Linked DNA regions of Homo sapiens: all the other regions are linked to region 1. The links are contacts of gene promoters, found by promoter capture Hi-C in human tissues and cell types (Jung and others, 2019). All regions are on one chromosome and are shown on one strand. Each heading gives the region's core, a stretch centred on a gene start or on the middle of the fragment in contact. The rest is flanking DNA. Distances are from core to core; before and after follow the strand shown.

The links. The method cuts DNA at HindIII sites, captures the fragments that hold promoters and counts their contacts. A contact is called where the count stands out against the background at its distance.
Region 2: a fragment that was not itself captured here is called in contact with the fragment with the promoter of RILPL1 in region 1 in 1 of the 25 tissues and cell types used here (dorsolateral prefrontal cortex).
Region 3: a contact is called between a fragment that was not itself captured here and the fragment with the promoter of RILPL1 in region 1, in 1 of the 25 tissues and cell types used here (mesenchymal stem cells).
Region 4: a contact is called between a fragment that was not itself captured here and the fragment with the promoter of RILPL1 in region 1, in 3 of the 25 tissues and cell types used here (dorsolateral prefrontal cortex, hippocampus and spleen).
Region 5: a fragment that was not itself captured here is called in contact with the fragment with the promoter of RILPL1 in region 1 in 3 of the 25 tissues and cell types used here (IMR-90 fibroblasts, lymphoblastoid cells and spleen).

What each region holds. Positions count from the first base shown.
Region 1 is chr12:123,531,370-123,537,101 of GRCh38, forward strand. It overlaps RILPL1 (Rab interacting lysosomal protein like 1), which reads right to left and starts at 2,350. Exons shown (of 7, transcript NM_178314.5): 1 at 1,805-2,350. The coding sequence starts at 2,113. MIR3908 (microRNA 3908) reads left to right here and starts at 5,040; the gene lies at 5,040-5,165. RefSeq lists an enhancer at 1,351-2,168 and silencers at 2,384-3,073, 3,093-3,278. The HindIII fragment of the contact is 25,082 bases long and covers 1-5,732 here.
Region 2 is chr12:123,124,891-123,130,622 of GRCh38, forward strand. The region is part of intron 1 of PITPNM2 (phosphatidylinositol transfer protein membrane associated 2); the gene reads right to left. Among named protein-coding and RNA genes, the nearest start is that of PITPNM2, 23 kb to the right of the region's middle. RefSeq lists an enhancer at 2,758-3,369. The HindIII fragment of the contact is 4,327 bases long and covers 1,481-5,732 here.
Region 3 is chr12:123,166,343-123,172,074 of GRCh38, forward strand. MPHOSPH9 (M-phase phosphoprotein 9) reads right to left here. Exons shown (of 24, transcript NM_022782.4): 17 at 313-447. Among named protein-coding and RNA genes, the nearest start is that of PITPNM2, 18 kb to the left of the region's middle. The HindIII fragment of the contact is 3,215 bases long and covers 915-4,129 here.
Region 4 is chr12:123,223,767-123,229,498 of GRCh38, forward strand. It overlaps MPHOSPH9 (M-phase phosphoprotein 9), which reads right to left. Exons shown (of 24, transcript NM_022782.4): 3 at 3,697-3,850. Among named protein-coding and RNA genes, the nearest start is that of MPHOSPH9, 6.5 kb to the right of the region's middle. The HindIII fragment of the contact is 6,998 bases long and covers 1-5,732 here.
Region 5 is chr12:123,256,585-123,262,316 of GRCh38, forward strand. MTRFR (mitochondrial translation release factor in rescue) reads left to right here. Exons shown (of 3, transcript NM_152269.5): 3 at 229-1,376. The coding sequence ends at 447. It overlaps CDK2AP1 (cyclin dependent kinase 2 associated protein 1), which reads right to left. Exons shown (of 4, transcript NM_004642.4): 4 at 4,392-5,219. The coding sequence ends at 5,152. Among named protein-coding and RNA genes, the nearest start is that of CDK2AP1, 12 kb to the right of the region's middle. The HindIII fragment of the contact is 6,691 bases long and covers 1-5,605 here.

The DNA of each region.
Region 1 (5,732 bases), core at 1,100-3,599:
CAGCTCCCCCGCAACAGAACTAAAGAGCCCCAGTTGGGGGACAGTATAGGTGCCAGGACTTCTGTGTGATCTGGTCAAAGCCCCTTGGTCCCTGTTAATAAGAGGCGCCACACGAGAGAATTTCCAAGGTCCCTTGCCTCCTTGACCCTCTATGAGAGATGGAGGCCTCTAGGGTAGGAGTAGAGGTGCTTGGGGTGGGGACGGTTTCCTAATATGAGCCTGTGAGCACCTCAATGAATGTCTCTCCAGGCCTAAAAAGAATTTTAAGACTTGCAAAGCCCTTGCTATGGGCAGGCTCTGTCCTGAACACTTTATATGTATTTATATTAACTCTTTAAACCTCATCACATTCTAATGGGGGTACTATTACTATCCCATTTTAGAACTGAGGAAACTGAAGCACAGAGATGCTGGGTGATTTGCCCAAGATCACACAGCCTGCAAGTGGTAGGGTTTGAAACCAGGCTGTCTAGCTCCAAAGTCCTAGCTTCTAGGAGTCTTGAAATTAATTACAGGTCAAAGCATTTTCAGGCTCCCAGAGTGACCTCGGAAATGCTGCTCAACTCTTGGGAGCCTGAGTTTCCTTCCTGCCCCTAGGGCATAGGGACCCATGAGGACGAGCACAGTCAAACATGGCAATGGTGCTGTTACCTACCTGTGGGTCTGCCCTCAGGTAAAGGGTTCAGACCCAGCTTTGGCTATTTTACTCCAAAACACAGAGATCCATCAAAGTACACAATAAGGGATGGCCTGCCCCTGAGGTTCAGAGAGGCCATCTGTATTTCCTGAGGCTGAACAGCAAGCTGGAGACTGCTCAGGCACCCTGATCCCTCAAGGAAAGGTGTTTCCTCCCATTCTCAGTCTGAAGGGGCTGCCAAGAGCATCCCTGGCTGAGGTTAGGGCAGGAAACCACATGTCTTTCACTTCCTTTTCTCCAGAAACCTCGTCTGAACTCCAGGCCCAGTGGGGAGGCCCTGATTCAGAGAGACTCCTGATCACAGGGCAGAGGCTTAGCCTTAAAGCCACCCCAAATCATCCCTTTCCCCCAATTCAAACAGGGTGGGGAGGAGACACGGGGGCTGGGACTCTCTCACCACTAATTTGGGACAAATTGCTCCTCCCACTGTGACCCTCGGTTTCTTTATCTGTAAAATGAAGATAGTCTCTATAGAGTCCTGTGAGGATTAAGGATAAAATCAGAGGAGAGAACACGGGCTACCACAGGTTCATAAGCTAGGGGAGTCCCGGGAAGAAAGTTGCAAATATGAACCCGAAGACTAGGGGTCACGAAGCTCAGTGGCTGGAGGTCACATTCCCTTTGCTCTGGGGAGACTGGGGGGGGGGGGGATGAAGAAAGGGTCCTGGGCCTGATGTCACATCTTCTTGGTAACTCGGGAGGCCAAGAGGCTTATTTCATGTCTGGAAGAGAATAATATGTCTAAGCACTTAGCTTATATGGTCCCATTTAATTCTTCTAAGGTGGGTCCTATTATGATTACCATTTGACAGGTGAGGAAATAAAGCACAGAGAGGTTAAGTAACTTACCTAAAGTCACACAGCTATTAAACGGTAAAGGTGGGATTGGAACTCCAGAGAACAGCTCTTAATCTCTCGGGTGGTATCTGCCAGCCACCCCTGGTCGGGCAAAAGAAGGCCAGGGCCTCCCTCCCTCCCCACGTCGGGTCTCCTCTGGTCCGGTCCCTGAACACACACACGTGCGCACCCACAGCTGCCCAATGCGGAAGAGCCCTTGGGTCCCCGCGGTCCCACTGCCCGGACGGACAGACCGAGGCCGCCGCCCACCTTCTGGTGCTTGCGCTCCTTCTCGATGCGGTCCATCCTCTCCAGGCGCAGGCGGTCCAGCTCCAGGCGCAGCTCGTCCAGCTCGGGCGCGACGTGGTGGCGGCTGACCAGCACCTCCAGGATCTCCAGGACGCGCACGACCTTGGGCATGAGGCGCGCGATGGCCTCGCAGCCGTGCTGGTCAATGACCCGCTCGAACTCGTGGCCCACAAGCGACGCGATGTCGTACACGTCCATGACGGTCAGCTCGGCCACGTTCTTCTCCAGCGCCGACTCGGCCGCCAGCGCCGACCCCCGCTCCTCCTCCATGGCCACCCTCCTGGCCTGTCCCCCGCCCCGCAAACTCGTGCAACTCCCAAACTTGCCGCTGTCGAGGGCCGGGCCGGCCGGGCCCAGCCTGGGCCGCGGGCGGGCGCGCTCAGCGGGCGCTGGGGCGAGGGCGCAGCGGGCAGCGGGCGGCGGGCGCGGGCGCGGGCACGGGCGGCGGCGCGGGGTGTGCGGGCCCGGGGTCTGGGCGCCCGGCTCGGCCCGGAGCTGCTCCCGAGTGGGCGGCGGCGGCGGCGGCGGCGGCGGCGGCAGCGGGGAGGGCGCGCGCGTGCGCAGGCCCGCGGCGCCTCCCAAGTTGGGATCCGAGTTGCGCTCAATGGAGCCGGGCCGGGCGCCTCGGGGCGGTGCGGGCCTGAGGGGCGGCAGAGCGCGGGGCCGGAGAGGAAGGGCGGCCCGCGGCTCCTCCGGGAAACTTTGGCGGCGGCGGCTGCGAGGCCGGGTGATCGCTTCCCCACAGGGAGGCCGCGCGCCCCGCCCCAATCCCGGCCTGGCCAGGGGCGCGCCCGCTTTCCGCCGCCCGGGGGCGCCCCGGGGTACCCCCCCAAGCGCCGACTCCGCGGCCTGCACTCCGGGCCCCCCTCTCCAGCCGCCGGACCCGCGGCGCCCCTCACCCGTGCCCCGGCCGCCCCTCCCCCGCCCGGCGCTGACTCCTCCCACCACCCGGCCGCCGGGAGGGGTCCAGGCCGCCCCGGGAGAGGGGGCCGGGGGCGCTGGTCTCGCGGGACGATTCGCTGCTCCGGGTAGCGGCCCCGGCCTTGGAGAGGGATGGAGGGGTCACGAGGAGGTCCCCGGGCTGGGGCTCATCCCAGGAAGAGAACGGGGACCCCCCCCGGCCCGCAGACACTCCGCGCAGACCCGGCCACCAGGCGGACTTGCAGAGGCGCCCGGAGAGGGGCCGACGTGTCGAGGAATGCTGGATCCCCGGAGCCCCAGGGCGCGCCTCCCCGAGCCACATCCATCACTGGCTCCTTGTGACATGAACGCCACTTCACAGTAGAGCGAAGCCCGCTTGGCATTCCAGCACCACGAGTTCTCTTGTCCCAAGGCCCCCTGTCCATTTGGGCTGGCCAAATCCACTTGTCCATCAGACCCCCTCCCACTCCCGGGAGAACGTTTCCTGAACCCAGAACCCCATCCACCCTCCCCGCCCCCCACGCAGGAGTTAAGGACCCCCTTGCAAACTCACAGTCCCCTGCTTGCCCCATCAGGATTGCTCTTAGCATCCTGAGTTTTCACCGTGTGGTTGCAGGTAGGTTTCCACCGTCAGATCTTGGCTCCTTGAGGGAAGAAATCTTAATGCCCTTGTAGCCATAAAGCGCACCCCAACGTGGCACGTATTGATTAAAAATCTAAAAGTTGGCCGGGCGCGGTGGCTCACGCCTGTAATCCCAGCACTTTGGGAGACTGAGGTGGACGAGGTCAGGAGTTCAAGACCAGCCTAGCCAAGGTGGTGAAACCCCGTCTCTACTAAAAATACAAAAATTAGCCGGGCATGGTGGCGCATGCCTGTAATCCCAGCTACTCAGGAGGCTGAGGCAGAGAGTTGCTTAAACCCGGGAGGCGGAGGTTGCAGCAAGCCGAAATCGCGCCACTGCACTGCAGGCTGGGTGACAGAGCAAGACTCCATCTCAAAATAATAATATAATACAATAAATAAATAAATAAATAGTAAAAAAAAAAAAATTAAGGCCAGGCGGGGTGGCTCACGCCTGTAATCCCAGCACTTTGGGAGGCCGAGGTGGGAAAATTTCTAGAGCTCAGGAGTTCGAGACCAGCCTGGCCAACATGGTGAAACCACGCCTCTACTAAAAATACAAAAATTAGCCAGACATGGTGGCATGTGCCTGTAATCCCAGCTACTCAAGAGGCTGAGGCGCGAGAATCATTTGAGCCTGGGAGGCAGAGGTTGCAGTGAGCCAAGATCGTGCCACTGCACTCCAGCTTGGGCAACAAGAGCGAAACTCCGTCTCAAAAAAAAAAAAGAAAAAAAAAAAAGTAAAATAAAAAAATTAGCCAGACGTGGTGGTGAGAGCCTGTAGTCCCAGGTATTTGGGAGGCTGAGGTGGGAAGATCCCTTGAGCCTGGGAGGCAGAGGTTGCAGTGAGTTGAGATCACACCACTATGCTCCAAACTGGGCGACAGAGCGAAACTCTGTCTCAGAAAAATAAAAAATAAAAATAAATACTCCTGGCCACAGTGGCTCATGCTTGTAATCCTAGCACTTTGGGAGGCCAGGGCTGGAGGATCACTTGAGCCCAAGATTTCGAGACCAGCCTGGGCAGCATGGCAAAACCCCGTCTCTATTTAAAAAAAAGTCTGGTTGCAGTGACTTATGCCTGTAATCCCAGCACTTTGGGAGGCCAAGGGGGGCAGATCAGTTGAGGTCAGGAGTTCAAGATCAGCCTGGCCAACATGGTGAAACCTCATCTCTACTAAAAATACAAAAAAAAAAAAAAATTAGCCAGGCGTGGTGGCAGGCGCCTGTAATCCCAGCTACTCAGGAGGCTGAGGCAGGAGGATCACTTGAACCCGGGAGGCAGAGGTTGCAGTGAGCTGAGATCGAGATCGTGCCACTGCACTCCAGCCTGGGTGACAAAGCGAGACTCTGTCTCAAAATAAATAAATAAATAAATTAATTAATTAATTAAATAAAAATTACCCGACTCTGGTGGCAAGTGCCTGTAGTCCCAGCTACTCGGGAGACTGAGGTGGAAGGATGACTTGAGTCCCAGGGAGCAGAGGTTGCAGTGAGCTGTGATTACACCACTGCACTCCAACCTGGGTGACATAGGGAGACCCTGTCTCAAAAACAACAAAAAAACTCATACGTTATCTAGCACGGTGGCGTGAGCCTGTAGTTCCAGCTACTCCAGTGGGAGGATCCCTTGAGTTCAAGAGTTCTAGTCTAGCCTGAGCAATGTAGGTAGACTGTTTCTAAAAAAATAAAAAGTTAAAAAAATTTATGTTAACGTGTAATGTGTTTACTAATTTTTTTTTTTTTTTTTGGAGACAGAGTCTCCCTCTGTCGCCAGGCTAGAGTGCAGTGGCTCGATCTCAGCTCGCTGCAGCTTCGACCTCCCAGGTTCAAGCAATTTCCCTGCCTCAGCCCCCAAGTAGCTAGGATTACAGGCGCATGCCACCATGCCTGGCCGATTTTTTTGTATTTTTAGTAGAGAGGGGGTTTCACCATGTTAGCCAGACTGATCTCGAACTCCTGACCTCAGGCAATCTGCCTGCCTCAGCCTCCCAAAGTGCTGGGATTACAGGCATAAGCCATCCTCCCGGACTATTTTTTAATTAATATTTTTTAAAGCATCAGTTTAAATTTCTTTTCTTTTCTTTTCTTTTTCTTCTTCTTCCCTTCCCTCCCCTCCCCTCCCCTTTCTTTCTTCCTTTCCTTTCCTTTCCTTTCTCTTTCTTTCTTTCTTTCTTTCTTTCTTTCTTTCTTTCTTTCCTTTCTCTCTCTTTCTCTCTCCCTCCCTCCCTCCCTCCCTCCCTCCCTCCCTCCCTCTCTCTCTCTTTCTTTCTTTCTTTCTTTTCAGGGTCTAGTTCTGTTGCCCAAGGTAGTGCAGTGGTGCGATCGTAGCTCACTGCAGCCTCA
Region 2 (5,732 bases), core at 2,394-4,893, 410 kb before region 1:
AATTTATCTTTAGAATCTTGCTAATGTCTGGTGCACTATCATGCATAGCCTTTTCAATGTTTCGTTAAAAAAATTTTTTTTATTTTGAGACAGAGTCTCGCTCTGTAGTCCAGATGGAGTGCAGCGGTGACATCACAGCTCACTGCAGCCTTGATCTCTTGGGCTCCCTTGATCCTCCTGCCTCAGCCTCCCAAGTAGCTGGGACTACAGGCATGTGTCACCATGCCCAGCTAATTTTTGTATTTTTTTTGTAGAGATGAGGTCTTGCCATGTTGCCCAGGTTGGTCTCAAACTCCTGGGCTCAAGCAATCTGCCCACCTCAACCTCCCAAATGTTAAATGTTTTTTAGTAAGTGAAAGAATGAATGAGTAAATGATTCTAAAGCACTCAAAAAACAATGTTCTTTGAATCCTAGAAAATTGTGAGTCTTGAATTGTTAGAGAAGGAAGAAGTTAGGTAGAAGCAAAAACAAATAAATAATTGATATCTGGATACAAAAAGCAGACTCAGTCATATCAAAGGATGATGCACACCACTGATGGTTCATTTAAGTTGATGCTACAGATTTAACAAGAGTTTTTAAAATTTCAATTCTAATTATTTTATGTTTTAAAATGCCAATATTTAATATTTCTTTTGGAATAGCAGAACGCAAAGAAAATGCATGGTACAGGCCAGGCGCTGTGGCTCACGCCTGTAATCCCAGCACTTTGGGAGGCCGAGGGGGGCGGATCACGAGGTCAGGAGTTTGAGACCAGCCTGACCAACAAGGTGAAACCCCGTCTCTATTAAAAATACAAAAATTAGCTGGGCGTGGTGGCAGGCACCTGTAATCCCAGCTCTCAGGAGGCTGAGGCAGGAGAATCGCTTGAACCCCAGAGGCCGAGGTTGCAGTGAGCCGAGATTACTCCACTGTACTCCAGCCTGGGCGACAGAGCGAGACTCTGTCTCAAAAAAAAAAAAAAAAATTAGGGTTTTTTTTTTTTTTTTTTTTTTTGAGATGGAGTCTCGCACTGTCACCCAGGCTGGAGCGCAGTGGCGTGATCTCGGCTCACTGCAAGCTCCGCCTCTCAGGTTCACGCCATTCTCCTGTCTCAGCCTCCGGAGTAGCTGGGACTACAGGCACCCGCCACCACGCCCAGCTAATTTTTTGTATTTTTAGTAGAGACAGGGTTTCACTGTGTTAGCCAGGATGGTCTCAATCTTCTGACCTTGTGATCCGCCTGCCTCGGCCTCCCAAAGTGCTGGGATTACAGGCTTGAGCCACCATGCCCAGCCTAGGCTCTACCTTTTAATCCTGTGACCCTCATATCCCTAAAGAATCAGAAAGAAGATCTAAAAACCAAGCAGACCCTTCAGTGAGTTGAATATAACTGCTAAGGGTTCTGCAGGGATTGATGCATATCCTTGGGTAAGCTTGGGAATTCTTGCCCTATTAACCTCTCACTCTTGCCCTACTATTCTCCACAATCCAGTCTGGCAAGCAAGCTGACTACAACTCCCACCATTTAGAAGAGGGCCAACTTGCAGATCAGACCACCAAGCTTCAGGCGAAAAGCTGTCACAAAGCTGGAGGGCTTTAGTCCTAGGAGAACTGCACACTGACCCCTCTGGTGGTCATGCAAACCACTATGGTTAAAATAAGGCAGAAAATTAAAAGTAGCAAAACCACACTGAGTGAGTAAAGAAAAAGAACTAGGGAGGAGGGAGGATGACTTAGGAAGTATGGCCAGCATGATGGGTTCAGCCTGTGGGACAGCTGGCAGACACACATCCATCCACCCCTTCCGTGGCCTCCGAGAACAGCCTGATTCATGACATTGGAACTTCAGCTTCATCATGGTAGCCCCAGTCAGCTGAATGACTCAGCAATCCCTCAAAGACTGAATTATCTCTAGGGTTCTCTGTTGATTGAAAGAGAGGCAAGAATTGCCTTTGAGAAAGATCAGGATAATGACTGGGAAAATGTGATGAAGCTTGCATGAATGACAGCAGTGATGAAGCAGTGTCTGTTCTCTGGTTTCCAGCAGGAGCAAAAGATTTACTTCCAACAACCAGGCTCTGTTCACTGGGGTCTCGTCCAAACACTGCCCTCAGCATGGTGGTCTAGGGGATGCCAGGGCAAGGGACCACAAAGCTACAGGGAATTTCTGAGAGCCCTGCCCTTGGAGAATGCACGAATGGTTCATCCCTCCTCAAGTCACATCCATCATCCAGGATGAGTTGAGCTTGAAATAATGGACTTCCAGGCTCTGTGACAACGACTTAATGGTGCACAAATGTGTTCAAAACATTCTGGAAGAGTCCTCAGAATAACCCCACTGAGAGATGCTGAACACCCTGCATCACGCCACTTACACCGCTGCCCTCCATTTCCTGGGAGTCCAGGTCGCAGGGGACCCAGGAGGTGCTGGCAGCTGCCTGAACTGTCCGGGTGTTACTCTTGTTTCTAACCAGAAAATAAGGTCACTGGCGTGTTGATGCCCAAGCAAACAGGTGTTAGAGGTGCTCCTACCCATCAAATTCAACAATGGTTTCCACTGACGCATAGAAAAACAATGGTGTTTGCCTACTTATTTTGCAACAGGCTGCCATACTGTCTTATTCTAATTAATTTTGAGTTTGTCTACTTTGAAAACCTAAGACAACGGCTGTATCCACTCAAAACATTCATTTTGCAACCTCCTATCTGAGAGTTATGCCCTGCCTCTTTTTCTTTCTTTTTTTTTTTTTTTTTGAGACGGAGTCTCGCTCTGTCGCCCAGGCTGGAGTGCAGTGGCGTGATCTCGGCTCACGGCAACCTCTGCCTCCCGGGTTCACGCCATTCTCCTGCCTCAGCCTCCCAAGTAGCTGGGACTACAGGCGCCCGCCACCACGCCTGGCTAATTTTTTGTATTTTTAGTAGAGACGGGGTTTCACCGCGTTAGCCAGGATGGTATCAATCTCCTGACCTCGTGATCCGCCCGCCTTGGCCTCCCAAAGTGCTGGGATTACAGGCATGAGCCACCGCGCCCAGCCTGCCTCTTTTTCCTAGCCTGTTGCATTGGCTTGAATCTAGAATAAAGAACAGTACTAAAGAGAGAGAAGGCATGCTTGTCTTGCAACAGACATTAAAAGGAATGTGTCTTAGAGCAACAGTGCTTCCTAGATGTTATTTGGCCCTGGAATGCTTTTTTGATGCAATACCCAGGAGCATTCTGTGTTCCTCAAACATACTTTGGAAAATGCTACTAGAGCATTTGACTATTAAGGATAAAGTATCTGAGTGCGGTTGCTCATGCCTATAATCCTACCACTTTGGGAGGCCGAGGGGGATCACTTAAGCTCAGGCATTCAAGACCAGCCTAGTAAACATGGCGAAACCCCATCTCTACAAAAAAAAAAAAAAAAAAAAAAAAAAAAAAAAAAAAAAAAGCGGGCTCACACCTGTAGTCCCAGCTACTTAGGAGGCTGAGGTGGGAGAATCACTTGAGCACAGGAGGTGGAGGTTGCAGTGAGCTAAATCACGCCACTGCACTCCAGCCTGGGTGACAGAGCAAGACCCCGTCTCAAGTTAAAAAAAAAAAAAAAAAAAGGTGGGGGGGCAGGCGCAGTGGCTCATGCCTGTAATCTCAGCACTTTGGGAGGCTGAGGGGGGCAAATCACAAGGTCAGAAGATCGAGACCATCTTGGCTAACATGTTGAAACCCCGCCTCTACTAAAAATACAAAAAATTAGCTGGCCATAGTGGCACACGTCTGTAATCCCAGCTACTCGGGAGACTGAGGCAGGAGAATCATTTGAACCCAGAGACAGAGGTTGCAGTGAGCAAAGATCGCGCCACTGCACTCCAGCCTGGGCAATACAGTGAGACTCGATATCAAAAAAAAAAAAAAAAGATAAAGTAGCTACCGATGGGAGATATTCTTTATCATGTTGAAATATTTGCCTATCCCTCAGTCTCTACGTTTTTAAGATTAATGAGGCTGGGGCCAGTGGGCTCACGCCTGTAATCTCAGCACTTGGGAGGCCAAGAGGGCGTATCACCTGAGGTCAGGAGTTCAAGATTAGTCTGGCCAACATGGCGAAATCCCGTCTTTACTAAAAATACAAAAATTAGCCAGGTGTGGTGGTGGGCACCTGTAATTACAGCTACTCAGGAGGCTGAGGCAGAAGAATTGCTTGAACCCGGGAGGCAGAGATTGCAGTGAACCAAGATCACTGCCATTGCACTCCAGCCTGGGCAACAAAAGCGAAACTCAATCTCAAAAAAAGGAGTAATGAGGCTAGGCATGGTGGCGCACACTTGTAGTCCCAACTACTCGGCAGGCTGAGGCAGGGGAATCCCTTAAGCCCAGGAGTTCAAGGCCAGCCTGGGCAACATGGGAGTCCTGTCTCTAAAAAAATTAAATGGATAGGCCGGGCGTGGTGGCTCACGCCTGTAATCCCAGCACTTTGGGAGGCCGAGGCGGGCGGATCACGAGGTCAGGAGATCGAGACCATCCTGGCTAACACGGTGAAACCCCATCTCTACTAAAAATACAAAAAAAATTAGCTGGGCATGGTGGCGGGTGCCTGTAGTCTCAGCTACTCAGGAGGCTGAGGCAGAAGAATGGCGTGAACCCGGGAGGCGGAGCTTGCAGTGAGCCGAGATTGCGCCACTGCACTCCAGCCTGGGCAACAGAGAGACTCCGTCTCAAGAAAAAAAAAAAATTAAATGGATAGTGAACTTTATCAAATGCTTTTCTGGCATCAACTGAAAGCACAGTAGTTGTTTTATTTGTATATTTTTCTCTTTTTTCTTTTAGTAGATCTCCTAATATTTATGTTTCTGAGGCTGGCCCACAACCCAGCATAATGAGTCCTGTGCTGGGTACTTGTACTGGGGGAACACAGAGACACAGAAAAATGCATAGAGTTCTTGCCTACAGAGGAAACAGAGGGGAGAGGAACACGGGGAAAACAACACACACACATGAACATGCACACTCCTGCATACCATCTGAATGGCAGGCTAGTACTTGTGAATTTTGTTTTGCGTTTTTTTTTTTTTGAGATGAGGTCTTGCTCTGTTGCCCAAGCTGGAGTGCAGTGGTACGATCATAGCTCACTGCAGCCACAAACTCCTGGGCTCAAGTGATCCTCCCGCCTTGGCCTCCCAAGTGCTGGGACTACAGGTACACACCACCATACCCAGCTAATTTTTAAAATTTTCTGCAGAGATGGGGTCTCGATAAGTCGCCCAGGCCAGTAGTACTTGTGAATTAATGTGTCACACACAGGGCACAGTGAGGACCCCAGGGAACCACATATGAATCATGCTAATCCCAGAGGGCTTCCAGGAGATGGCACAGAGCATTTGGGGACAGGCTGGAAATGAGGGCCTATGGATTTCAGTCCTGCCTTGTGTGGGACGGAAGGGCACACTTTCCTGGCCCACAATTATCTCAGCAGTAAAACAGTAGAGATAATTATAGATGCAAAAGACCTTTGGAAACACCCAGCTCTGCCTCCTTCATTTGCAAACAGAAGCTAAGGTTGGGGGCAGGGTCATTTGCCCAAGGCCACCGAGCCATCCTTGTGTCCTTCTTGGCTCCAAGGGGAAGGGGAAGAGAAACAAAAGAAAGCTTTGATTGGCCCGGCAATCACGCCTGTAATCCCAGCACTTTGGGAGGCCGAGGCGGGCGGATCACGAGGTCAGGAGATCAAGACCATCCTGGCTAACATGGTGAAACCCCATCTCTACTAAAAAT
Region 3 (5,732 bases), core at 1,272-3,771, 360 kb before region 1:
GCGATCCTCCACGTTGGCCTCCCAAAGTGTTGGGATTACAGGCGTGAGCCACCACACCTGGCCTGAGGATCGACATCCTATCCTAATCACAAACCCATACTGTGCCACTGAGCACAGGTGGGGAAGCTTGGCAGAGCTCATGGAAGTAAAATATTCTAAAAGTAGTAGCCTTTCAAAGTAAAATAAAAGTCAGGTTCTCAAAATTAAGACATTAAAGAACCAAAGAGAGGGCTTCCCAAACTTTTAAAAGCAATTGAAATCTCTAAGAAAACATAACATCCCTAAATAGAATCTTTAGCAAAGTTATCTCACCCTAGGCTACAGGTTTCCTCCAGCTGGTTATCCACGTTACTGTCCTGGGTGTCCAGAGGCTGGCCAGTAAAGATGGAATACTCTGCACCTGGAATCAGCCATTTCCGCCTGCTGACGTCTGAAGTTGCTAGTGTGCTATTAGAATGAAAACGGTCAGGCATTATAAAGGTCTGCACTTCATTTCAGACTGCATGTGCATATAAAACAATCTGCTCTCAAACAGTATTTACACATTTGTACACTAATTTAAAAATCACATGTAACAATCTATATTTTGGATACAATTTATTTTACAGTTTTATGATTCAACTTAACTGTTGTTCTAGGTTTCTGTTACTTCTGAATCTCAGTCAAGATTCAGGTACTTGCGGCTCTGAACATTCCCCTCACTGTCTCTCAGGCATTTCACACCCTTTACACTCTGTGCCCCTACTGTAGCTGAGGGTAAAGTGCTGAAGGAAGCAGGGCTGCCCTTCTTGTTCCCTTCAGACCAGCACTGTCCAACAGAATCTTCTGCAAAACCAGAAATGCTATCTGCACTGTCCAATGCAGCAGTCACAAGTCAGGTGTCACTACTGAACACCTGAAATGTGGCTGCTGAGACTGAAGAACCAATTATAAAACGTTAATTTTAATAATGAAAGTTTTCAGTATCAAAATGGAGTCACTAATGTCAAACTCCCAAAAAATGGAGCTGGGAGGCACAAAGGAGCAGCCTCTCACACAGATGCTGATTATGGGAACTATTCTGAATTCCTCAGAACGACAGTATTCCAGATAATAAGCTGCTTGTACAAGGAAACATCCCTAACAAGGGATGTCTCCACCACTGAGCTAATGCTAATGCCTGCAACATGCTCCTGTAACCAGTGGTCTTTGTTTTAAAATAGCTTAGTGGACTGTGGACTGCCCTTTGTCTTTTAAAGTTTCCTGTGTCCCAACCCCTTTGGACATGCTTATGGTTCACCACAGCATGCGTACTCCAGCTTGCAAACCCCCAACATTTCCAAATAAATTTCTTTGGAGAGTCAGTCTCTGTCACTGATTTTAGGTTGACATGATTGATTTAAATAGTAATAGTGGCTGTTGGCAGGACTGTACTGAACAGCGCAATTCTAGACATTGCTCCCCCAGCTCATCTGAGGTTCCCACCATCATGTTAACCCCCAGTCATTCCCCAGACTTTAGAGCCTGCCTTGTTTTCTCCACACCTATGCCTGTTCTCACACTAGGCAACTTCCTGACCACTCTCTCCAGTGAGGTGACCCTCTACTCCTCAGCCAGCCACCTCAGAGGGTACTTGCTGGCTTTTGTCAAAACCAGAGAACACACTCCCCTTAAGAAACCAATACTCCAAAGACTGTGCCCCTATTCTGCCTCCCGCCCTCAAGCTTCAGCAACGTGACCTACGATCCTTGGCCTCTCCATTTTCCATTTATCAACCCCTCCTAGTCTGACTAGGTCCTCTTGATCTACCCTGAAGTCCACACTCACGATACTTTCTCTCTCACCTTTCACCACACCTGACTGGCAGCAAAATCTGAGGACTGGCTGACTACAAAGGCCGCGCTTCAGGTCTCAACTCCTACCACTGAGCTTTGCTGGAAAAAAGCCACCAGCTGGGCAGACTCATCACCACCTCAAGCGGACACCCCAAACCGCCTGACCGCCTGGCAACATGACTTTCTTTTTTTTTTTTTTTTTTGAGACGGAGTCTCGCTCTGTCACCCAGGCTGGAGTACGGTGGCGTGATCTCGGCTCACTGCAAGCTCCGCCTCCCAGGTTCAAGCGATTCTCCTGCCTCAGCCTCCCAAGTAGCTGGGACTACAGGCGCCTGCCACCACGCCCGGCTAATTTTTTTGTATTTTTAGTAGAGACGGGGTTTCACCGTGTTAGCCAGGATGGTCTCGATCTCCTGACCTCATGATCCGCCCACCTCAGCCTCCCAAAGTGCTGGGATTACAGGTGTGCGCCAACGCACCCGGCCGGCAACATGACTTTCTGTAACCAGCAAGCTTCAGTTCTCCAAACATGACTATCTCACACCCTTTCCACCCTCCTCAAACCTCCCATCCCACCTTCGTTGACAGGTGAAACTTTTGAGTCAAATTCAAAGAAACACCAGAAACCATGAAACAACTCTTGTTTTCTCTCTGTCCCCTTTCACAACCAAACATTTTAGAGGCTGCCTCTTCTATCTACATTCACTTCAACTCCAGTCACTCTTTCCCTCAGTTTTTTTTTTTTTGAGACAGAGTCTCACTCTGTCGCCCAGGCTGGAGTGCAGTGGCGCGATCTCGGCTCACGGCAAGCTCTGCCTCTTGGGTTCACACCATTCTACTGCTTCAGACTCCCGAGTAGCTGGGACTACAGGCGCCCACCACCACGCCCGGCTAATTTTTTGTGTTTTTAGTAGGGATGGGGTTTCACCATGTTATTAGCCAGGATGGTCTTGATCTGCTGACCTCGTGATCCACCCACCTTGGCCTCCCAAAGTGCTGGGATTACAGGCGTGAGCCACTGCGCCCGGCCCAGTTTTTAAATTAAGAACTATTTCAGGGCCAGGCTCAGTGGCTCATGCCTATAATCCTAGCACTTTGAGAGGCCAAGGCGGGCAGATAACGAGGTCAGGAGCTCGAGACCACCCTGGCTAACATGGTGAAACCCCGTCTCTACTAAAAATGCAAAATAAAAATTAGCCAGGTGTGGTGACGGGCACCTGTAGTCCCAGCTACTCAGGAGGCTTAGGCAGGAGAATGGCATAAGCCCAGGAGGCGGAGTTTGCAGTGAGCCGAGATTGCACCACTGCACTTCAGCCTGGGCAACAGAGCGAGACTCCGTCTTAAAAAAAAAAAAAAATCTTCAAACATTCTTGGAAAATTACAAAGAATACTATAACAAGCATCTACTCACCCATTCTCAGTTTTAATAAATGCTAAGATCTTGCCAATTTTTTTTTTTCTTGAGATGGAGTTTTCCTCTGTCACCCAGGCTGGAGTGCAGTGGCGTGATCTCAGCTCACTGCAACCTCTGCCTACCAGGTTCAAGCAATTCTCCTGCCTCAGCCTCCACAGTTGCTGGGATTACAGGGGCCCACCACTGTGCCCAGCTAATTTTTGTATTTTTAGAAGTGACGGGGTTTCACCATGTTGGCCAAACTCCTAACCTTAAGTGATCTGCCCACCTTGGCCTCCCAAAGTGCTGGGATTACAGGTGTGAGCCACGTGCCCAGCCCGATCTTGCAAAATTTGTTTTTAATTATAAGACCAATTTTTATATATTTAATTACACAGAAGGCATAATGTATTAATACACATTTTTAAATGTCTTTTTTTTTTTTTGAGACAGGGTTTTACCCTGTCCCCCAGGCTAAAGTGCAGTGGCATGATCATGGCTCAGTACAGCCTCGACCCCTCAGGCTCAAGTGATTCTCCCACCTCAGCCTCCCGAGCAGCTGGGACTACAGGCGCGTACCACCAACCACCACACCCAGCTTTTTTTTTTTTAAGACAGAGTCTCGCTCTGTCACCCAGGCTGGAGTACAGTGGCTCGATGTCGGCTCACTGCAACCTCCGCCTCTCAGGTTCAAACCATTCTCCTGCCTCAGCCCTGTGAGTAGCTGGGATGACAGCTGCGTGCCACCACATCTGGCTAATTTTTTTGTATTTTTAGTAGAGACGGGGTTTCACCATGTTGGTAAGGCTGGTCTCAAACTCTTGACCTCATGATCCACCTGCCTCAGCCTACCAAAGTGCTGGGATTATAGGCGTGAGCCACTGTGTCTAGCCGCTAACTTTTTATATTTTTTGTAGAGACAGGGTTTTGCCATGTTGCCCAGGCTGGTCTCAAACTCCTGGGCTCAAGCAATTTCCCCACCTTGGCCTCCCAAAATGCTGAAATTATAGACGTGAGCCACCACACCTGGCCTTTAATGCTTTCTCTGTTCAATATTATGTTTGAAATTTATCTGTGTTAGTACATATAAGCTCTATTCATTTTTATCATTTACCCATAGTATGAATATATTTGTCCTTTCTCCCGGCAGTGGAAATATGGTTTTTAATATGCAGCCTTTCGACAATGCTAAAATTAACACGTGTGAAAATTCCTCTAAGGCAAACATCTTAACATGCAACTGTGGGATTTGGTGCACATCTTCAACCTCTCTGACTGTTGCCAAATCACTCTCCAGACAAGCTGTATCAACTGTCAATCATTACTTTGAGAGTTCCTGTCTCTCCATATCTTTGCCAAACGTTAAAGTGTTTCAATTTTAAATATAACCTGTCCGATGGTGTGAATTGTATCTTATTGTTTTAATGTGCATTTTCATGACAATTAACATGTTCTCATTTTTATTAGCCATCAGGGATCTGTGCGCTGCTTGTTATATTCTTTTACCATTTTTTGTTGAGAAAGTTATCTTTTTCTTATTGATTTGTAAGAGTTCTTTCATCTTCTGGATACTTTTCCTTTATTCGTTCCTGTTCACTTTAAAAATACAAAATATCAGCCGGGGCCAGGTACAGTGGCTCACGCCTGTAATCCCAGCACTTTGGGAAGCTGAGGCGGGCGGATCACTTGAGGTCAGGAGTTCGAGACCAGCCTGGCCAACAAGGTAAAACCCCGTCTCTACTAAAAATACAACAAATTAGCAGGCATGGTGGCACGTGCCTGTAGTACCAGCTACTCGGGAGGCTGAGGTGGGAGAATCGTTGAACTTGGGAGGCGAAGGTTGCAGTGAGCCAAGATTGTGCCATTGCACTCCAGCCTGGGTGACAGAGCGAGACTTTGTCTCTAAAATAAAATATCAGCCAGGAACTGTGGCTCACGCCTATAATCCCAGCACTTTGGGAGGCTGAGGTGGGCGGATCACTTGAGGTCAGGAGTTTGAGACCAGCTTGGCTGACATGGCAAAACCCCATCTCTACTAAAAATACAAAAATTAACCAGGCATGGTAGTGGGCACCTGTAATCCCAGCTACTTGGGAAGCTGAGGCAGGAGAATCGCTTGAACATGGGAAGCAGAGGTTACAGTGAGCCGAGATTGTGCCACTGCACTCCAGCCTGGGTGACACAGCGAGACTCCATCTCAAAACAAACAAACAAACAAACAAAAAACATATATTATATATATATCTCAAGCACACATAGACATACAGGTAATATTCATGCCAACCATCCAGCTTTATAAATCTTGGTTATATATTCTTTAAATTAAGAGTAGAACACTATAAAGACAACTAAAGCCCCTGTGCACCTCTCCAATCTCATTCGTTCCCTCCCAAAAGCAACCATTTATACTAAATTTGTGTTCAGCATTCCCATGCACGTTTTCATACGTTTACTATGTTTGCATGAACCCATAAGAAATACAAAATTGCTTCACATGCTAAAGTCAATATAAATAGTATCCTATT
Region 4 (5,732 bases), core at 2,095-4,594, 310 kb before region 1:
TTCACTTTGTGAACTCTGTCTCCTACCCCTGCCCCACTCTAACTCCAAGCTCTCCACTAAAAACTCGTGGGGTCCTGGACAAATTAATTTGTACCTCAGTTTCCTACTTTATAAAATGGGAATAATAATATCTCATAGATGGCTAAAAGGATTAAGTTTTATTTATTTATTTATTTTTTTTTTTGAGACGGAGTCTCTCGTTCTCTCACCCAGGCTGGAGTGCAGTGGCATGATCTGGGCTCACTGCAACCTCCGCCTCCCGTGTTCAAGCAATTCTCATGCCTCAGCCTCCCAAGTAGCTGAGATTACAGACATGTGTCACCATGTTCGGCTAATTGCTAATTTATATATATATATATACACATTTTTTTTTTTTTTTTTTTTTGGAGACAGAGTCTTGCTCTGTCGCCCAGACTGGAGTGCAGTGGCATGATCTCGGCTCACTGCAAGCTCTGCCTCCTGGGTTCACGCCATTCTCCTGCCTCAGCCCCCAAGTAGCTGGGACTACAGGCACCCGCCACCACACCCGGCTAATTTTTTTGTATTTTTAGTGGAGACGGGGTTTCACCATGTTAGCCAGGATGGTCTCAATCTCCTGACCTCATGATCCGCCTGCCTCGGCCTCCCAAAGTGCTGGGATTACAGGCGTGAGCCACTGCACCCAGCCGAATTTTCATATTTTTTAGTAGAGACATGGTTTCACCATGTTGGCCAGGCTGTTCTCGAACTCCTGACCTCAAGTGATCCACCCGCCTCGGTCTCCCAAAGTGCTGGGATTACAGGCCTAAGTTTTAAATTTAAATATGATGCAGTGATCTCAATGGGGAAGGAACTCCATGTTGGAAATCTGTGAGGTCACGGTCATGACAAAGCTGGGGGGACATCACTGGCATTTAGTGGGCAGGGTCCAGGCATGCGGATCATAGGGCAGTCCCCCATGATGAAGAATTGTCCTGTGTCCATTTTATGTTATAAAACAATAAATATTTCGCACAGTATTCATAACATCAAAACAAACTTAAGTTTCAAAATCTCATGAGAAGTTGGTCACCCTTTCAGAAAAGCATGTCACCAGTGGAGGTGCTGTACACAATACCTGGATCATCAACACACCATAGCTATATTGATCTGTGTTCAGCTGCTGAATTCACAGTGAGTACATACAGGTAAACATGACTACTTCATTATGTCTTCTAATGAACATGTGCCTGACATGGATATATCCAAATACATGTTATTTTACTGTAAATTTTTTATTTCTCCTTTATGTCACATTTAGGATAGTATATTGATTTTTTAAAGCGGGTAAAGGTAGGTTATATTACCTATGAATTTCATTTCAGGATAATATAAATTGATGTTATTTTGAAAGCTGTTATAAAAACAGAGCTCAGAGGCTGGGCACAGCGGCTCATGCCTGTAATTCTAGCAGTTTGGGAGGCCAAGGTGGGTGGATCATTTGAGTTCATGAGTTCAAGACTAACCTGGGCAACATAGCAAAACCTTGTCTCAACAAAAAATGCAAAAATTAGCTGGGCATGGTGGTGTGCACCTGTAGTCCCAGCTACTTGGGAAGCTGAGGTGGGAGGATGGCTTGAGCCCAAGAGGTTGAAGGTACAGTGAACAGAGATTGTGCCACTGTACTCCAGCCTGGATGACAGAATGAGACCCTATTTCAAAAAAAAAAAAAAAAAGAAAGAAAGAAAAGAGAGAGAATGAAAGAGGAGAAAAAGAAACAAAGAAAAGGAAGGAAGGAAGAAAGGAAGGGAGGGAGGGAGGGGGTGGGAGGGAGGGGAGAGGAGAGGTGGGGCAGGGAATATATTCTGATTCTGACTTAAGATGCTAATGTCAAAAAAAAAAGGTTGATTTCTAATTATCAAAAGTAACAATTTCTAGTTAAACACAAATTTTCCAGAAGTTAAAATACATTGTGGCAATGCCTCCTTTGTCCTAAAGCATGTTAATTCAGTTATCAAAAGCTAATAAGGGCTAGCCACGGTGGCTCATGCCTGTAATCCCAGCACTTTGGGAAGCCAAATCAGGCAGATTACCTGAGGTCAGGAGTTCGAGACCAGCCTGGCCAACATGGCTAAACCCCTTCTCTACTAAAAATACAAGAATTAGCTGGGCATGGTGGCGCTCGCCTGTGATCTCAGCTACTCGGGAGACTGAGGCAGGAGAATCACTTGAACCTGGGAGGCAGTGGTGGCAGTGAGCCGAGATCGCACCATAGCACTCCAGCCTGGGCAACAGAGCAAGACTCTGTCTCAAAAACAAACAAACAAATAAACAAAAAGCTTATGAGTAGATACATTAAGGGAAGCATTTAATATACTTAATAAAACATTCCATTTTTAATTGCATTTGCATGGGCATTTTTAAAGGTCTTTCACGTTAGTGCATACTGATTATTATATGCAAACAAGCATAAAGTATAAAAACTGAAAACTCAATTTTTTAAGCATATAATAATACTTTTTTATAATTTCAATAATTATGGATAATGGATATAAATAATTACACTTAGCAGTTGCTGCTATCGAATTCTTAAACCAGGTAATCTTTCATTTCGCTTACTCTACATTCTGAAAAATAACACAAATTATGCTTCTAAAAGTACAATTAACGTTTAAAACAAGATCTAGTGCTTTCTAAGAATTAATAATGGTTTAAACATTTCTATAAAAAACTATCAAATCCAGCCTTAGGAAAGTCTATCTTGAGCATTATCCTATGAAATAAAATTTATATATACTTTTTTTTTTTTTTACTGAGGGGGTCTTGCTATGTTGCCCAAGCAGGTCACAAACTCTGGGCACAAGCTATCCACCTCTGCCTCAAGTGCTGGGATTACAGGTTCTCTTTTTTTATATATAGAGAGAGACAGGGTCTCAGTCTGTCACCCAGGCTGGAGTGTAGTGCTGTGATCATAGCTCACTGCAACCCTGACTTCCTGGGTTGAAGTGATCCTCCCACATCAGCCTCCCAAGTAGCTAGGACTACAGACACCGTGCCACCATGACCAGCTAATTTATTTATGTATTTATATTTGTAGAGACAGGGTCTCGCTATCTTGCCCAGGCTAGTCTCAAACTCCTGGCCTCAACCAAACCTCCCACCTTGGCCGCCTAAAGTGCTGGGATTACAGGCGTGAGCCACTGTGCTCGGCCATGTAAGTATTCTTTTAACTGTTACATTTTTATATCACAATTTAACCTATGAACCAAAGAAAGAACCACTGATCTGAAAACAATATAATGCAATGTATCACAGCTGAATATGGTAAGGTACTAAATAGAAGCTTCAATTTATAATTAGAACATTGAAAATATTTCAAAGTGGATTTAGGTTTTTCAAAATGATGACAATTCCATATAAGTTACTGACAACATTACAATTAGTAACAATTTTAATAATTTTGGGATTCTCAGGTCTCTGAACCAAGACAATGTTTTAGTTCATATTTAATATACAAATTAGTATGTCTAATCAGTAATATATTGTTAAAAAATACTTTTGATCACCTTTTTCCCATTCATTCAATATCATTCCCAAATTAATATACTTGACCACTTTAGCATTAACTTAAAAGTGTCATGCTCTTCAGGACATAAATTTCTAATAATTTAGAGTTTAGTAGAGGTATGTTTTAACATAATTATTTTAAAATTCCAAAAATAAAACAAAATTAGATACCTCACAGTTTTTCCAAAGTTCCGAATCAGTCTTTCCACTGTTTTGTAGCTCTTGCATTAAAGAAGTTAGGACTTCAACTGTACCTTGAATTACAGATGGTCTGGTCTTCCCTGAGAAAGAGGATACCCCATTTGTACTAAGGTGGGGACTACTTCTGTTGAAACATAAATAATTCAAATGGTTTTCTTCATTCTATCAAAGTGTTGAATAATTCAGCAGTTCAAGATTTAGCAGAGCAGTACAAAACCACTGACATTTAATCCTTCTAATGGCACCTCATTTGTTCAAAATCTGATCACAAGTTGCTCCACAAAAGGAAACGGCCAGTAAAAAGACCGCACTGTACTCTTTTTAAGAACACAACAAGAAGACCTTCTCCAGAAGTGAGAGAACACTCCAAAGGATCGGCAGAAAATAGAAAAAGTCTGTGCTAAACAATAAGATTAATTTCCAGCTTCTCTGATCTCAGCTATTCCAGAGGATTATTTCCCCCAACTTTCAGAACAGCCCTTCATTGTGCAGTGGGGATTCTTTCCCCACTGCCCCAAATGACAGTCAAATCTTGTTCACTGGACACCCTTAATTTGGTACGATAAGCTGATGCTTATCTCTGCACTATCTCTGCATAAAAGTTGTGCCAAGCAAATCAGCAGCAAATATTCAGGACTTATTTAGCCTACTCAGTGTGTAAAACAGCACTGAGTTTTTCCAGGAGTACTGCTTTTCCAAACTTCAGGTAAGTTATTTCGGATTTGTTTTATAAACACACAATATATTTCAGGACATTAAAATGTACTTAAAATCTAGTCACCAAAAGATCATTTTAATTTATTTACTGCTTGATATCCTGCTTTCTTTCACAAATAATTTGTTTAAAAAAATAAATAAAAATAACAATAAAATAATAGTTAGGACCAGTGAAAATATTACTAAAAATTCAAAGGAGGCCAGGCGCAGTGGCTCACGCCTGTAATCCCAGCACTTTGGGAGGCCAAGGCGGGCGGATCACCAGGTCAGGAGATCAAGACTGTCCTGGCCAACATGGTGAAACACCATCTCTACTAAAATACAAAAAATTAGCCGGGTGTGGTAGTGCGTGCCTGTAGTCCCAGCCAATCAGGAGGCTGAGGCAGGGGAATCCCTTGAACCCAGGACACGGAGATCGCAATGAGCTGAGATGGCACCACTGCACCCCAGCCTAGTGACAGAGCAAGACTCCGTCAAAAAAAAAAATTCAAAGGAAAGAATATATGTTATCAGTAAAGGATTTTACATAGCTGTAATAATCAAGTTTAAATGTGGCCAATTTAACTGCCAGTCACAATGAAAAGGAAGACAAGTTTAATTGCCTAATTTTCACTAGCAAGGCACAGTTAGCTTCCTCCAGCCAAATCAAACACTGTTCTAACAGGAATATCTTCTAGAAGTGTACTTTAAAGGGACCACCAAGTAATACAAGAACCAAAATGCGTGGCCAACTTTCTGCAAGTGCATACAGATTACTGTAGGACCATTTCCTGTGCCTTTTAAAATTTCCTTTTCTCGTTTTATTTCACATATTCCTTTGTTTTTTACAACTCCCCACCCCCATTGTTTTATATACCCATGTAAGCTGCCTTAAATTCCTCCTGAAAAGGGCAGAGAATTAACAACTTTTAAAGTAATGTATTTATTTATAATACACAATTTCTTCAAGACCTACCGTGTTTAAAGCTCCTTGCCCCTTTACCAGTAAGGCCCCAAAACCGCTGTTTTCCTTCCTTGTACCCGCTCTTTATAGATGCTCTCCTCTCTTACAGTCCTTGCCTCTTTGCTGTTTCTACACTACTATAAATTTAGAAACCCAATAACCAAGCTTGTCAGACTATGTGCAAATTGAAAGTAAACAGGCTCTGATGAAAAACAAACCATGATCTGTGTTAAGACCATTAAAAAATAAAAAACCAATCACAGGATAGCTTAAAAATAAAATGCATTTTAAAAAATTAATAAAATGCATAAAACACACTTTGATAACATCTATTTAGTCCACTATT
Region 5 (5,732 bases), core at 1,010-3,509, 270 kb before region 1:
ACTTGGGAGGCTGAGGCAGGAGAATCACTTGGACCCAGGAGGCGGAGGTTGCAGTGAGCCAAGATCACACCATTGCACTCTAGCCTGGATGACAAGAACGAAACTCTGTCTCAATAAATAAATAAATAGTAAATAAAAAAGCGAACAGGTTGAATTTAATGACTTCTGAGGTCCTGTCCATTTTTAACATCCTGTGGTTTTCACATTATAAAATATTATCTCTTACAGTGCCATCAGACAAGATCAGTTGATCAGAACAGAAAGCTAGCTCGGAAAATCCTACAAGAGAAAGTAGATGTTTTCTACAATGGTGAAAACAGTCCTGTTCACAAAGAAAAACGAGAAGCGGCGAAGAAAAAACAAGAAAGGAAAAAAAGAGCAAAGGAAACCCTGGAAAAAAAGAAGCTACTTAAAGAACTGTGGGAGTCAAGTAAAAAGGTCCACTGAGAAAAGAATTAGAGATTCCAACTGACAGAATCTGCCAGAAGCTCCCAGGGAATAATGGTGGCGAGTTCCATCACCAGCATTATTATAGTGCTTCAAAAGAAATATTTTTGATGAACTTAAAAGACAACAAATTTATTTAAATGGTGCACTAAACTGTAGTGAACAGAGACATGCACGATTCAAGAATAAAACTCGGCTGGGCACGGTGGACGGTGCCTCACATCTGTAATCCCAGCACTTTGGGAGGCCGAGGCGGGCGGATCACTTGAGGTCAGGAGTTTGAGACCAGCCTGGCCAACATGGTGAAACCCCGTCTCTACTAAAAATACAAAAAATTAGCCAGGCATGGTGGCGGGCACCTGTAATCCCAGCTACTCGGGAGGCCGAGGCAGGAGAATTGCGTGAACCTGGGAGGCGGAGGTTGCAGTGAGCTGAGATCGCGCCACTGCACTCAAGCCTGGGCAACACCTGGGTGACAGAGCGAGACCCCATCTCAAAAAAAAAATAAAACTAGTTCAAGTGCAATGACACACGCCTATAATCCCAGCACCTTGGGAGGCTAAGACAGGAAGATCACCTGAGCCCAGGAGCTCAAGATTGCAGTGAGCTATGAACACCACTGCACTCCACCTGTCCACTTGTTCTTGTGTGACAGAACAAGACCCTGTCTCTAAAAAATAAGATAAAACCATAAAGAAACACAGTCAGTACTATACAAGAATAATGGCTACTTCTAGAGGGAAGGAGTTGTCATTGTGATGAGGCACTTGGAGGGGTTCTGGGGTGCCTGACAAAGTTCTGTTTCTTCACCTGGGTGGTAGTTAGAAGGGTGTCCCCGTATTTCAAATTGTACCTTTGTGAGATTGTATGTTTTGTAATAATAAAATTTTTTTTGTAATTAGTAAAGTCAATTTTTATGGAGAACTGGAGAATGGAGTCAAACATTAATAGCATTTCTTGGCAACTTGCCATCTGCTGGGAAGCTGCTGCCCAGTGACACTTAAAAGTCAGTTATCCCCATGTCAGCTCAAGACAGTAAGAGAAAACAAGGGCCGGGCATGGTGGCTCACGCCTGTAATCCCAGCACTTTGGGAGGCTGGGGCAGGCGGATCATGGAAGTCAGGAGTTTGAGACCAGCCTGACCAACATGGTGAAACCCCATCTCTACTAAAAATACAAAAATTAGCCAGGCGTGGCAGCACACGCTTGTAATCCCAGCTACTTGGGAGGCTGAGGCAAGAGAATTGCTTGAATCTGGGAGGCGAGGTTGCAGTGAGCCAAGATTGCGCCATTGCACTCCAGCGTGAGCAACAGAGCAAGACTGTCTAAAAAAAAAAAAAAAAAGAGAGAAAATAAGAGGGTTGGAAGAGCTAAAGGCTCTGTTCCTTGTCCATGTGCTCTATTAGCTTCTAGGCTGTATGATGCCCAGTTGTGCCTCTGATGTAGAAACAAACACATTCCCTGCACGTTGATTTGCAAGATTTGTAAAGGTGAGGTTCCAGAATCTGATTTGCTTGTAAATTTACGTCACTTAAGCTGGATTTTACCTTACAGTTGTTTTTCTTTTAAAGCCATGCTTTATAGCTTGGCTTGTTAGAACTCTTCTGGAGTCCACGTAGAAAACAAATAGGGAAAAATGCTGAGAGGTGAGAAAGCCATTGGGAGATTGCCAGTTGCAGGGCCTCAGTTGTGCAGTCTGTCCAGCAGGCCTAGGCGGCATGTCCAGTAGGCCTAGGTGGCATGTCCAGTGCATACATCCAAGCACACCTTTCTCTTTGAGGCTGCCAATGAAGGCTCTTCTCACCTCAGTGACAGCTTTGGATGCTTACACATTCAATGCAGGGCTCATTCTACACCTCCTGTTGCGAGTGTACAGGACCCTTCCCCAGCCCAAACGCCCTGTAGAAAATAAAGGCTCTAGAACAACACCTAAGAAACCAGTAAGAGTGGGAGGGGAAATTTGGAGCTGGAGATAAGGGAGAATGGTTTCCGTTTGTCTCCTCTCTCATACCTTTGCAACTTTCTGCCACATGCAGGAAGGGGACACAGCACCCATTTCGCTAGAGCCTGTTCCTGCTGGCCTTCAGCCTTGTCATGGCTGAGAATTCGCCTCATGCCTGCATCAAAGAAAGACAAGTCTCTCTCATTTGTCTTTGTCTACTGCTCAGCAAAGCAAATTCTCATTGCAGGTATTTAGGGCCTAAGGTATAGAGTAAGAATTAAAATCCCTTTGGGAGGCACTGTCAGAGACCACCACGTGGACTCTCAACACATCCAGTGCAGCCCATTTTTTCCCTGGCACCAGAGCAGATAATTCTTCCAGTGAGCACCATATGAAGTAGCTTGAAGTTAGGAGCCGTACTTTATGAAAAAGATTCCTGTAGCACCCACCAAAAGCCCACAGGATAAGCACCTACGAACTGAGAATGGCCTAACCATGGGGTAACAGGCCAACTCAATAATACTGCTTCTGGCCGGGCGTGGTGGCTCACGCCTGTAAACCCAGCACTTTGGGAGGCCAAGGCGGCTGGGTCACCTGAGGTCAGAAGTTGGAGACCAGCCTGACCAACATGGTAAAATCCCATCTCTACTAAAAATACAAAAATTAGCTGGGTGTGGTGGCACGCTCCTGTAATCCAGCTACTCGGGAGGCTAAGCTGGGAAAATCGCTTGAACCTGGGAGGCAGAGATTGCAGTGAACCAACATCAAGCCACTGCACTCTAGCCTAGGCAACAGAGGGAGATTCCATCTAAAAAAAAAAAAATTTTTTTTTTAAAAACTGCTGCTGCTATTTTTTTTTCCTAGCATACACTTAAGTTTGCTGCACTTAAAATACACCCATAATGCAACTTCACTTTATCCCTACCTCTGACTTAGCAAACACATTCTTTCCCCAGCCAACTGTGCTAATGATATCACCAAAATGTTTCCGTGTCAGATGGGAAAATACAGTTTGAACAGGCATCTCCTACCTCTTGTAAAAGGTAAAGTAGAGGTTCCTCTCCAAAGACTTTCCTCCCCATTTAATTTGGAATAAACGGTAACTTCTCTTCGAAGCAAAATTTATTCAAAGACCTGTGCTAACATTCCTAATTATCTGCTAGCCGTGGTAAAGAAATCAATGTACTTTATGTTCTTAGCTCCCACAATTTAGCCTAAATATTTGTCCTGGCATGCTTACACTGGTCGGAGCAAGCATTAGGTCATAGCCTGTTCCTCTTCCTTATTTAAAAGTGTTTACCTTTCTCACCATTCCACAAGTTACTTTCTCCTTCCTTTGTTCTCTTCTGCCTTCGCCTCTTTTAAAAAGTTTTAAGTTGCTTCCCAATCAGGACAAATACAGAATATGAGGTCCCGTTCCAGCCAATGGAAACCGGACACAGCAGTAGGGTGGACGCATCAGGTTACAAATGACCCTGTCTCTTTGTTCGGTGTACTCTCGTGGCAAAACTGCTGGCGAATGTACCCTTTCTGCGGGAAGTAAAAATGGCCTTGCTGAGTAAATTAAATTTATGTTCAAGTGCTATTTCTTCACGGCACCGGGGAACAAGCATTTCAAACACTTTCATGAGAGATTATTTAAAATAGCACTTCTTTACACCAGGCGTGGTAGCTCACACCTATAATCCCAGTACTTTGAGAGGCTAAGGTGGAAGGATCACTTGAGCCCAGGATCCAGCCTAGGCAACATAGTGAGACCTCATCTCTGCAAAAAAAATTTTTTTTCCATCACACACCCATTCATTCAATACAAAAAGTCTTTTAAAAATTATTCAGGCATAGTGGCACACACCTGTAGTTCCAGCCACTAGGGAGGCTGAGATGGGAGGATTGCTTGAGCCCAGGAGGTTGAGGCTGCGGTGAGCCAAGATTATATTACTGCACTCCAGCCTGGGTGGCAAAACAAGACCCTGTCTCAAAAAAATAAAACAGCACGTAAGAATTCAAGGAACCCACATTTTAATACAAATTGTTAATGAAAATAAGCTTTATTACATCAAGTAATAAATACATACAAAGATGCAAACAGTTTTAGTCATTTTCTTCCAGATGTTTTTATCAACTTACAATAAACGCAGAACTGAGATCTACTTACAGTCTTAGTATGAAAGTGTTCGGGGGTCCTTGTTAGGTTTGGTGGGTTGCTCTTTCTTCTGTATTTATAACTTGTGCATTTTTAAAAATTGACTTTGAAGCACTAATAGTCATGCAAATGCTTAAGCAAAAAAGAAGTTACATTAAGCAGAACCTACATTGTATGGCAAATGGGAACCGGCTACTAAGTAAAGCGTGCTGTCAATATGCGTTCAAAACAAAATCCCTACAGTGGTATTAGCTTATGAAAAGGAACAAAGAACACCATGGGTAACAAATGTATACAAAAGAGAAGATTAAAGGGAGACAATGGTGTCTTGGAGGCAAACTACAGTTTGCTGTAAGATAACTTTCCGTGCATCTTTTAAATCAATGCTTAAAAAACAAAAAAAACCTGGGCAGTTCCTAACTACTTAAAATGCAAATCCTAATTAACTGCAAAATCTTTTCTCAATCTTTGAGACTGTAGGTTCAGAGCCAAGTGAACCATGGGAGGAAAAACGAAACTGTAACCATTTTGAAAACAAGGGTTTCATCTGAACAGGGGAGATGAACTGTAACTTCTCATCTTGTAAAAAGATGGAAATCCTTCAAAACCAACAAGGCAGCTAGGATCTGGCATTCCGTTCCGTTTCTGCCAAGCACTCCCGAACCAGTCCTCTAGCGTGAATGATGCCTGAAACAGAGGCAGAGACCTGAGGTCAGCAAGTGCACAGGACCAGCCAGCAAAGCCCATTCTGAAACAGCAAGAGGATCCATCCTTCCACAGCCTGTCCACAAAACCCTCAGACATAAAGAGAACCAGGGAAACCTATAACCAAGCAACCCTGAAGGACGCTAACAATCCCATCCCTCTCTAAAGCCCTTCCCTCCTCACCACAACTCTTCCTGTCTCTCTAAACATTTTTTCCTGCATTCAAGGTGCACCAGCAAGCTGTCCTTCCACGACACTGTTGGATGAAAGACATGTCTCCACCCAAATTCTTTTGCTTGACCCACTATGGAGATTTTTCTCTGGCTTCTTCAGTCTGAATTCTAGACAGGGCTTGACCGGCGTAAGTAAGCAAGAGAATGGCTTCAGCTGCACACGTGAGGGCGCAGAGAACTGACTACTACCCACGCGGGACCCTGGGTCCACGGGGACAACCCCACAAGACTGCAGCTACCTTCTGCCCGATGAATCTTCCCC